Linked DNA regions of Homo sapiens: region 1 is linked to region 2. The links are contacts of gene promoters, found by promoter capture Hi-C in human tissues and cell types (Jung and others, 2019). All regions are on one chromosome and are shown on one strand. The core of a region is centred on a gene start or on the middle of the fragment in contact, and the rest is flanking DNA. Distances in the headings are between cores, read along the strand shown. Region 1 overlaps PDE8B (phosphodiesterase 8B). Region 2 holds the start of PDE8B (phosphodiesterase 8B).

Region 1 (5,344 bases), core at 2,460-4,959, 61 kb before region 2:
TTTTTTAAGTGGTCCTCTTTTTGGGAAGGAAAGAAAAGAAAGATTGTATGGGCAAACCTAAACAGATTTGTCACTATGAGTAACAAATTCAGAAAGGGTAAACTCCACATTGTTAACAGTGGTTACCTCTAGGGTGGGGCTGGAGGAGTAGTGATCAAGGGGAAGGACTTTACATATACAGTATATATATTTTTTCTTTTTTAAAAAAAGATGGGGTCTCACTATTTTGTCCAGGCTGGTCACAAATCCTGAACTCAGGTGATCCTCCTGCTTCAGCCTCCCAAGTAGCTGGGACTACAGGTGGGCACCACTGTACTCAACTAGTGTGTGTGTGTGATACTATGTGGTGTAAAGTGGTGATATTATGCTTGGTTTTTACATTTTTTTTGCATTTCTCAGTATCTTGAAAATATTTCTTTTAGTGGGCCAGTGGATTAAATTTCTGACCACTTAATTTCATCTGGCTGTCAACAAAATCTCTTTCTCTTTCTCTTTTTCTCTCTCTGAAACGTATATATGAACTTTTATCTAAAACTTTTATGACAATTTGCATGGCATGGGTGCAGTCTCCTCTCGGGCTCTCAGGTCTACAACTGCTAAAATTCCAAAGTACTGACATTTTAATAAAATAGTTAAGTTGTAAATTTTCCAACTATGACATTGAAATATCCTGTATTTTCCCATCTGTTTTTCCTCAGTGAACACTGTGCCTTTACTAGTTATTTGAGGAGGGTTATCAATAGGCTATTTGATGAGATCAATAAAGCACATTAATCTTCTAAATTTATACTTAATTGGAAATCTGTAGGTCTCAGAATACCAAGGTACTATTTGTGCCTCCATTTGTCCCCCACATGTAGCTAGGCCAGGTTGGCCATCACTGCATGTCCAGGAGCTAGCATAGCACCTGGGACATGTCAGATGCTCAATAACTACTTGTGGAATGAATGAATATGTCAGTGGAATGAATGAATATGTCAGTCTTATGAATGGGTCCGCAGGAAGGCAGCAGGAAGCAGTGGAAAGCTTTGGAATCAGATAGATCTGTGTTGGATTTCCAGCCCTGCCGCAGATGACCTGTGTGGCCTTGAGCAAAATGATTAACTTCCTGAACCTCAGCTTATTTACCTCTATAATGCAAATAATAATACCTCCCTACCTCATAGGGATTTTTTGAGGATTAATTGAGATAATATATATGTACCTAAACATTTGCATTCATTAAACAGCAGTTCCTCCTTTTTATAGATACTTAAATTTTAGTCTAAAGATAGAACTAGCTGGGCAAGATGGTTCACGCCTGTAATCCCATCACGTTGGGAGGCCGAGGCAGGCAGATCACCTGAGGTCGGGAGTTCGAGACCAGCCTGACCAACATGGAGAAACTTTGTCTCTACTAAAAATACAAAATTAGCCGGGCATAGTGGCGCATGTCTGTAATCCTAGCTACTCGGGAGGCTGAGGCAGGAGAATTGCTTGAACTCAAGAGGCGGAGGTTGCAGTGAGCAAAGATCATGCCATTGCACTCCAGCCTGGGCAACAAGAATGAAACTCCATCTCAAAAAAAAATAAAAAATAAAAAATAAATAAAAAAAAAACAGATGGAACTACCTGGAAGTTCTCTCTTTTCACCATTGTGTTAATAAAAATCAAACTTTATTTTTTATATACTATTTTGTCCACCTCAAATGGCTTTTGCCCTATTTCTTCCTGTCAAACCCAGACAAAATCTCAAGGTCAAGTTGAACCACTGCCTTTGCCTCAAAGCTTTTATCCTGTACTCCTGTCCCCAGGCAAAAGCAAGTTATTCTTCCTCAGTAAGTGTACTACCCTGCCTCTCTTACAGCATCTCACATTGTTGTGTTTAAAGTCATCTCTACCTATCATATCTCCCCTCCTAGCCTGTCAGCTTCCTGAAGGACAAGGGCGATTGCTAGTTCATAACTGCATCTCTCAAAAGCATTTTCTATAGTGCTTTCTGGGTAATAGATGTTTAGTAAATTTTAAAAAACCAAATTAATAAACGATCATATTTTCCCATAGGAAAAATAATATAATAGGCTATTACCTGCCTGTTCAAGAAATTGATTTGAAATAAATTACAGATAGAATTGATAGGATAGAAGCAAAGTGTCAATAACTATAAAAAACGATACAATGTTAAAATTAGGCTTCAGATTCTATAGAAAGTACATAAATGGGAGCTACGTACACTGCAGTGATGACAAGGGCTTCAGTGCAGCACAGAGACACACTAATAAGCTAAAACACAAGTCTGCCACATCATAAATTTGTCCTAACTCTTATAATCAGCTATAATGAATACAAAGCTTTCTTAAAAGAAGAATGATTTGGATAAGCAAGTTTCTTTAAATTCATGTCTTGTCTTCTTTCTCCTCCGTCTTGTAACTGACGTCGTAGCAATTAGGCCCATTCAAAATCATTCTATGCATAGGTATATCAAAACATCACTTTCTCTCCTTAAATATACACAATAAAAATACATTAAAAAATAATGAACTTTCTACTGCCTCTCTCTTGCCTTCTCACCCTCCCTTCCCAGCACAGAAACCTCCTAGTTGACCACTTCCATATGGCTCTTGCTAGGACCTTCGGTTATTTTTGCCCCCTTTATACTATGCTGCCCTCTGAACCATGTGTTCTACTCTTAACTGTTTTTATTCCTACTTCTGGGCTAATAATAGAAGCTAGTGCTTATTGAGCACTTACTATGTGCCAGGTACCATGCTAAGTCCTTTAAAGATCACATACCAGCCACAGCCTTCCAGGGTGGCAAGCAGTAGCTCAGAGAAGATAGCTCCAAACCAGACTGCAGCTGGAGGTGGTCAAGGAAGGCTTTCTGGAAGAGGCAGCTCTCAAATGGAGGTTTTAAAGGACAAGTCAGACAAAGAAGAAATAAAAGGAACCATATGTACAAAGGGCACTGATTGTGAAATAACAGGACATGTTCGAGGCACCACAAATCCTTTGATAACAGATCAGCCAGCTGTGGTTTGACCCTCCCAAGAGAATGGATAGCTAAGAATATTAGAACAACCAGAGTCAACCAAGGTTACTTGGCTGTTCTCTCTGCAAAGTACAATGATATCAACTTAAATGAAGTCATTACCAGTTTAGCCATAACCTGTGAACTAATAGATATCATAACCTTCTAGAAGCTCTCTCTTAATACATTCCATCACATTCCCATGATTTGCTGTTCCCCTCTACCCTCAAGCCTCTGCCCTCGGCATGCTCCAATAACCTTACCCTAAGCAGGGAGCCAAGCCAACATCTAACACTTCAAGGAGAACAAGGGGCAGAAGTTTAGACCAGGGTTTCCAGACCTAAACATATGTAAACATCGCAGGTCTGTTTCAGTTGGTCTGAGGATGTGGCTGAGAGTTGACATTTCTAATGGGCTCCCAGGTGGTACTGTTCCGAGGACCACACTTTGAGAAGTAAGACTCTGGTAGAGCAGATTCTGCAAGTTGCACTGACTACATTCACATCCCTCCCCAACATGTACCACCTGAAGAACCTGTTATAAGCCTCGGTTTTCTCATCCGTAGAATGTGAAGTGGCTGCTGTGGAAATCAGATGAGAATGTATAAGGACTATCCAGCATCTAGTCAACTTTCAAGAAACAGTGGCTCCCATTGTTGAACAACTTTGGGGATGTCCAGCCAGAGCTCCCTCTGTGTCTTCCCTTTCACTTCCTTCCATCTGTTATTGATTCCACTTCTTCTGGCCTCCTCCTGGGCCATGACCTGTTGATTATTCCCTATTTTACTAATGTTTCCAATACTCCTCTTCTCTGCCTTAAAAAAAAGTTCTTCACATCAAAAAACAAATAAATAAACTTCCCCAGTGACCTTCAGTCACTACCTTCTTCATTCCACAGTTCAACCTGAAATTTGAAAGGTATCAGCCTTGGCTGTCCCATCTACACCCCTATCCCCAACTCCTTAACCATTTGTCATCTAGATTCCACTCCCACAAAGCTAGGGAACTACTTTCTCAAGATCACGTACCAGCCACAGCCTTCCAGGGTGGCAAGTAGTAGCTCAGAGAAGATAGCTCCAAACCAGACTTCAGCTGGAGGTGGTCAAGGAAGGCTTTCTGGAAGAGGCAGCTCTCAAATGGAGGTTTTAAAGGACAAGTAAGACAAAGAAGAAAGAAAAGGAACCATATGTACCATTGATCCTGGAATAGGGAGATCTTATGGTCTTTTATAAACTGCCATTCTTCTTTACTTCTTGATATTAGTGACTCATCACCATAGTGACCTGGGAAGAGGCATGAGAAGGGTGGGGCCTAGCCACTGCGATGCAGTTATAGCACATCCCCTTGGGAGCTTAGCCAGTGTCCCCCACAATGCCATCATTGCATGGATTCCATAAATGGGGTTACCCCCAGAGCTGCCTTAATTCCTGAGTGAACAATGAGGGGTGAGCCTAGGATCTACACTGGAAAGGGTATTGTTTTCAGGAGATTTTTGGCTTTCTGTGTGACTCCGGAGTCCTCCTAACTCCCACCCGGCTGGTAAGATAAGCCTGGTCAGGAGCTGGAGCAGCTTCCAGAGAAAGTCTGGGCTAGGATTCTCCCAGCCCTGCTGCTTCTTCCCAGAAGGAAGTGGTATCTCTGGTTAGCTCTTCCTTCTGCCAAAGCAGTGTTCCATATTAAGAGTGTGGGGCCAAGGTTTAATAACAAGAGCCCGGAAAAATCACTATCTTCTGTGCACACATGCCCCCTAGGTATCTTGTTGAACAGAGTGGACAATTACAAGCAAGATCCAGAAGCTTCAGGGTCCCTCAGCCAAATACCATCAACATGTCACCCCACCTCTTAAGATGTAGCTCCAGTGCTAAGGGCACAAAGCAGAGGCAGAAGTGAACGGTAAGAGGGAATATGGGGAATTACCAGCTAGAGCAACCAGACAAGAGAAAGAAATAAAAGGCATCCAAATTGAAAAGGAAGTAGTCAAATTATTCTTGTTTGCAGATGATATGGTCTTATACTTGGAAAAACCTAAAGATTTCACCAAAAAACTATTAGAATGGATAAACATATTCAGTAAAGTTACAGGATACAAAATCAACGTACAAAAATCAGTAGCATTTCTGTATGCAAACAGTGGACAGTGTAAAAATCAAAAAGTAATCCCATTTAAAATAGCTACAAATAAAATACATAGGAATTAACAAAATAAGTGAAAGATCTCTACAATTAAAACTGTAAAACACTGATGAAAGAAATTGAAGAGGATACTAAGAATTGAAAAGATATTCCATGTCCATGGATTATAAGAATTAATACTGTTAAGACGTCCATACTACCCAAA
Region 2 (6,093 bases), core at 1,565-4,064:
TTTACGATTGAGAAAAGACAATACAACACCGAGTCACAGGCCTAAAAGGATACTATTAAATATATTAGGGCAGTTCTGTGATAATAATTCTGTAAGATTTGCATAAATAACTCTGGTCTCAAATTTCACTTCAAATATATACTTTCTGAGATCCACACAATGCAAAGTAGTGTTAAGTCAATGAACCAGGGGTTTCATTTCCAACATTCCCAGTAATGGGTTAGAGTGAATTAAGCTCTTATTTGGGAATCTTCTTGATAAAGCAAAATGAGTTAAACTCCTACCCAGGTCAAGCCTTTTAATACTTAAGCCAAGTAGCAATGAGATTAATACAAGTTTATACAAGCTGCTAATAATTGGGGCTCATTGTCCCTTCAGTTTTTACTTCATTTGGTCTCTAAGCAGCCTCTTGAGGGAAGTATTAAAAATGTACAGAATGGGTTCATTCAGTATTCTTTCTTCTACTGAACAAACATGGAGTAGCTAGAGTTGCCAAGTACTAAACTGAGATTATAGATATTCTAGAAAACAAAAATTCACAATTTCTCTGGAGCAACCAAAAAAAGTATCACAAAGTTCATGAGCTGTCACAATTTTGAACTACTGCTTCAGGTCTTCAACCGTCAGGCAAAAGGATGGTCTTTACTGATAATATCCCAACTTAATATTTTCACCAAATTTAACATTTTCATCCCTGAAAATTGCTCCTAAAGCTAACTTTGTGTGAACAGGGAGGGGGAGAGAGAGAGAGCTTGACAAAAGCAAAGTATAGCGTTCAGCACATGCCTCTGTAACGAATGGGCAACTGGTAGGTTTGTACTGTCATAAATCCTAGACTCTAGTCTTCAGACATGCTATGCTAAGATCACACTGTTAACATTCAATAGTTAGGAGAGAAAGCTTACTCCTGGCACATAGTAGGTGCTCAATAAACGATGTTTTTACTATAATGGTGATTATGATTACTGCCAGAGAAACACTGCAACCACAAGCAAACATCAGTCAAGCTTCATGTTAAACAATCAGATGCTGTTAAAAAAAAAATAGGTTCATTAAAAAACTTTTGGACTTCCAGATTGAAGCCAAAACATGTTATCCTTCTCCTCACTCCTCCACTGTGGGCTGCCTTCATCCAATGAAGACCAAGTTTTTAACTATTAAAAATACAAATGTGTCTTTGACAAATAATCCATGGAATGGTTCTTGGTAACCTATTGACCAGGTAAAGGCTGTGATTCTATCTGACATTAGGAGTATTTTTTTCTCTCTGTACAATAGGATATGCCATTGTTATCTTGTTTGCTGAAAGGAAAAAAGACCCAGTGCCCAGATTTACACAATGAAAAGCCTCTTGGATTTAACGGTACTTTGAGAACATACGGGAGGACACTATTTAAATAATTATTTTTCTTCTGTCTTTAAGAAATAAATATTTAGCGACTGCTTTAACCATCTAAACAATTTTTTCCACTTCCTCAAAATCCCACTCTCTGGGAAGATCAGTTGTATGTGCAGAATCATCCTCAGACAGCTGTACTGCACTGGAAACCACGTCCCCTCACGGTGGCTCTGCTGACACTCCGAACTCATGGCCCGGTTCTCTCAATTCTGTCTAGGATGCAGCCAACCCAGAGAAACGTTACAGTGACAAACAACAGGTTCCACTCTGCTCCGTTCCCACATCTCTTAAAACACGAACACTCATTCATTCACAAATCCCTACGCTCGGTTCCTGTGCTGAGACTCCAGCCTGGCTGGTAATCCCAGGTAAAAATCGGAATATGGGGCACTATCTATCCTGGTGCTGCAACTGCACCAGTCACCTACAAGGCACGCAAATCCAGCTCAGTGCTCAGATTTCATTCAACAGGACTGGCCACCGAATGCTCTCAATGGTCCCCACCCCTCTTCCTGCATAAACCAAGCCACAGCCTTCCTGCCCTCAAGGAGGAACAGGCCAGCCCACCTGCTTCCTTCTGCGCTCCCTTCCCCGCCCAGTCCCCCAGGACCAGCTAAGGACGCTTCCAGGACCCCTCCAGGGGCCTTTTTCTGACCACATTTCCTGGGCTCCCATCATCTCCACAAATGAAAAGTAAACTCCTCCTTAGTGACAACCTCTCCAAACCAACCGCCTCACGGTCACCCAACTCCGCCGGAGCCCCCTACCCGTGCGAGCCCCGCCGACGGGGCGGACGGCCCCCACGGCGTGTGCCAGCGCGGGGCATTTACCTTCACGCTGGTGTAGCAGGTCTGAGTCTCGGCCTCGGCGCTGCTGCAGCAGTGGCGCCTCCGGCCCCTGCTGGTGGTCGCGGCGGGGGCTGCGGAACCCGCGCTGCTACCGCTGCCCAGCTCGGTGCGGGCCCTGCGGACGCGGGCTACGCTGGGGGGTCCCGACGCGCGGCTCGGGGGGATGGCGTCGGCGGCGTCGGTCTGGACGAAGAGGCCGGGCAGGGGTGCCGCCGGGCCCTGCGACACGCTGGTGGTCTGGCGGGGCGAGCTGGACTCGTCCGAGTCCCGGCAGTAGATCACGCCGCTCTGCGAGACATGGATGCTGGGGGCGCAGCCCATCCCTCGGCCGGGCTCCCCCGCGCGCCCGCCCGCGCCCGCGGCCGCCGGGACCCAGCGCACCCGCTGCCACCTGCAGTGAGGGGGCGGCCGCGGCGGCGCCCGGACTGCGCGCCCCCCGGCCTGTGTGTCCGCCGCTCCGTCGGGCTGGCCGCGGTGCCCCCCGCCGAGCCTCCGGGGACCGCGCGCGTCACCCCAACTTTCCCTTTTGGGCCATCTTCCTCCCCGAGCGGGGGAGCGCGCATACACAGCGCCCCGCGCGCACCAGCGGCCGCCACCCTCCCCGCCGCGGCGCCCCAAACACGCTCCCCGCGCCTCCGCCTTCCCCTCCTCCCTCGGCGCGGCCCCCGCCGCCGCCCAGCTCGACCTCGCCGGGCTCCCGCACCCGCGGCCCTGGGCCAGGGCGCCCGCCCGCCTGCCCGCCTGCCTGCACCTTCTTTCCCCACTTTCGGTCTGCGCCCGTCCCCTCCCTCCCTCGCTCCCACCCTCCTTCCTCCTCAGGTGCCCCGGCTCCGCGGCCGCAGCCGCCCGGGCCCCACTGCGCCCCTCCGCCCCTCCCGCCGCTCCCGGAGCTCTCCCGACAGGGCAGAGCGTGCCCGCGGCTCGGCTCCGCCGCGGGGCCCCTGTGCGCGGCAGCTGGCACCGCGCCTCGGCGCCCTCCCCTCCTCCTCCGCTGTCCAGAGGCCTCGTCTCTTCTGCACTCATCCCGACGCCGCCCCCAGCGCCCCAGCCCCTCTTCCCCTGAAGGGCTGTGTAAGCCTCTCGCTTTTCACCAACACATTTTCACACATCCCAGAGCTAAACACCAGGAGGCCCCTCCCGAAATGGCAGGGGCCCTACAGCCCAGGCCCACCCACCGCATTTGCTTGCCTCTCAACACACCCGGGAAGTGATGGAGAGACCTCATGGTTCCGTCCTCTTCCCCCAGCCCCACCGCCTACTCCGAAGGCTGAGTTGGATGGTGACCCAGTCTTCAGAAGAAGCCCATTCCATGTCTACTCATCGTTTGGAAGTTTGTGCCAAGGGATGGGAGGCCCTGCGGAGGAAGGCACCCTTGAACACATACGTTCCCCTAAGATCCAAGGCAAGAACAGAAAGAAGCTGTCTGATGGTTCTTGGCTTTCTCCCCCATTTTCACCTCTTCCTTAGGTGTCACTAAATGTTCATGCTGGTTTCTATCCCGTCCAGCCGCCCATGTCAACTGCTGTTCCTCACACTCTGGGCTGGGCAGTCAACAAGGCCTTCCCTCATTCTCCTTGGTGAGGCATGCACAGACTGAGCTGTGCTGGAGGAGAGGAAGAATGCCTTTAGAAGGATGGCTGCTGTTCATCCTTCCCTTGTAAACTCTGAGTTACAGCTGCGAGACACCACTGCCCATTCAGTCACTGGTTCCCGCAGTAATTCCTGCCCGATTTTCACAATGGCACGGGGAGATAAATTAGATGGTCTAAGAAAGGATTTTATCTAGAGTTGCTTATACGGACAAGGGCAGTAACATAGAGGCTTAATGCAAGGCACAAAGAAGTATCCAATTTTAAGGTTTGTTTTTTGTTTTTTTTTCATTCTTATTTTCCTTTTTCTTCCTGGACCACTCTTGGATGTGACTGGATGAAGACTTCAAAAGACAGTTTCTAAATTTCATAGAGAAGCAAGATATCATTCCCAATCCCAAATTCAGTTATACAGGGAGAGTCTAACCTTATTCTTCTACCTTTGCTTCTCTTCTCAGTTTAGCTCTCTTTTTTTGATACAAAAAAACTCCATCTCCAGCTAACCTGGAAAAAGTCTATGCTGTATTTTTTAATGGACAGGCAAATTGCTCATAAAATTTCTGCACAGGTTGGGTCCTCCTAGAAGCAGATTCTGAGATGGTGTTTAGCAGGCAGAGGGAGGCTTTTTAGGAAGTGCTCTTGTAGTCAACATTTGTGGGAGGAAATAAAGGGAGGGAATGGAGGGAGGCAAGCTTGAGCAGAGGGAGAAATTGACCAAGCCTCAGGCATCCCTGCAGGGAGGATTCTGAAGGTGGGATGATGCTTCAGAGTTGTTCTGAGTTGGGGCTGGGTTCTGAGTTGTTCTGGTGGGCCTTTATACCCCAGCATGGACCAGTCTTTACATGCAGGCCACCTCAGCGACCTTGGGCAAGGTGGCTCTCTTCAGCTGAGGCACTGCCCCTAGGAGATGTCAGCTGAGCCAAGGGCTTTCTGCTGGCAGCACTCCCAGTAGCTGGAGGAGTAAGTCCTTTCCTGGCATCATAGCCTCCACCCACAGTTCCCTTCCAGGCTGCTGAGATCCATGTTTCCTTGTCCCATCCATGCCTGTAAGAACACCACATTAAATGGCTGAGACTGAGATATGGGGACAGTCATTCATTTAAAACTAAGCCTCATAGCAACCATCTGCTCTACTTCCAAAGGACAATTTAGGACCTGGGAAAACAACATCAGAGTTAAATTGCAAAAACACTAGTCTCTATACTAGTCCCTGATGTAACGTTCAAGTCAGGGTTTAATGATTCCTAAAGCTTACCTGTGATAATGCATATAGCATTTCAGTCATTACCTTTCATGGAGCTATCAATGACAGCCTTCACATACTGAAATTTACAGCCATGCATATTCTCATGACACATGTCTACTTTTTCAGAGTTTTCTCTAGGAATGCAATGAAACCACCCAGAAAAAAGCACCAGTCACTCACTGAGGCTTTGAAAGGCAAGAAGACTGTGATGAAACAGAAATTACAACCAATCTTCTGGTGGAGAACATTAGGAGCTGAATCATGAAGCTAGAAGTCACCCAGAAACAAATTTAGGTTGAACTTTCTACATTAAAAAATAAGAATAATTAAGCCTTGAAAGAGTAGGTGACCTCAAGGTAGCTAGTGAATAGGACTAGGCTGCTTTAGTGGGTTAACTGAACAGTTCATATTAGGACCAGTGACTTTCATTGACTGCAACTTCTTTGTTGGAATAGAAGATAGAAGGGGAAATGCACTAGGTATACAGTTTTCTTCCCATTCCCAGAGCAGACAGTAGCTCAAACACATCTTCAACTGCCAATTCTGGCTTAGTGAAAGAAAAAAATAATGTGTCCTTATAATCTCCACCAAGTGTTCTCAGTGGGAATGTGCAACCTGCCCCCATTGCTGGAACAGATCTGGCTGCTGAAACTTGCAGAAGTGTGCAAGTGGAGGGGAAATGGTTTAACTGAAATCATTTCCACAGCTTAGTTCTGAAGCCTGAGTTCTGACCCACAGAAGAGATTTCTGAACCAATTGCCACTGACCACTTCAATGCATCCCAGGTGACAGCAAAGACTACAAGCTCAGACACTGTTGATAAAAATTAGGCCTAAGTTACAGAATAAGGCCAGAAAGACCAACATTATTAAAAAAATAATTAAGTGGAGAAAAATTTAGCAACAGAAAATATCCAAGAAGCAAATCAAAAGAAAGTAAACTAAATCAGAAACATATTGTAAAACAAAACCTCCAATATGTCCAGGGTCACCTGAATGGCTTGTGTGTTTT

The links. Contacts are between HindIII fragments. The study calls those that stand out against the background at their distance.
Region 1: a contact is called between a fragment that was not itself captured here and the fragment with the promoter of PDE8B in region 2, in 2 of the 25 tissues and cell types used here (hippocampus and mesenchymal stem cells).

The regions. Positions count from the first base shown.
Region 1 is chr5:77,270,056-77,275,399 of GRCh38, reverse strand. All of the region lies in intron 1 of PDE8B (phosphodiesterase 8B), which reads right to left. Among named protein-coding and RNA genes, the nearest start is that of PDE8B, 62 kb to the right of the region's middle. The HindIII fragment of the contact is 3,319 bases long and covers 2,050-5,344 here.
Region 2 is chr5:77,207,401-77,213,493 of GRCh38, reverse strand. PDE8B (phosphodiesterase 8B) reads right to left here and starts at 2,814. Exons shown (of 22, transcript NM_003719.5): 1 at 2,230-2,814. The coding sequence starts at 2,568. The HindIII fragment of the contact is 4,534 bases long and covers 274-4,807 here.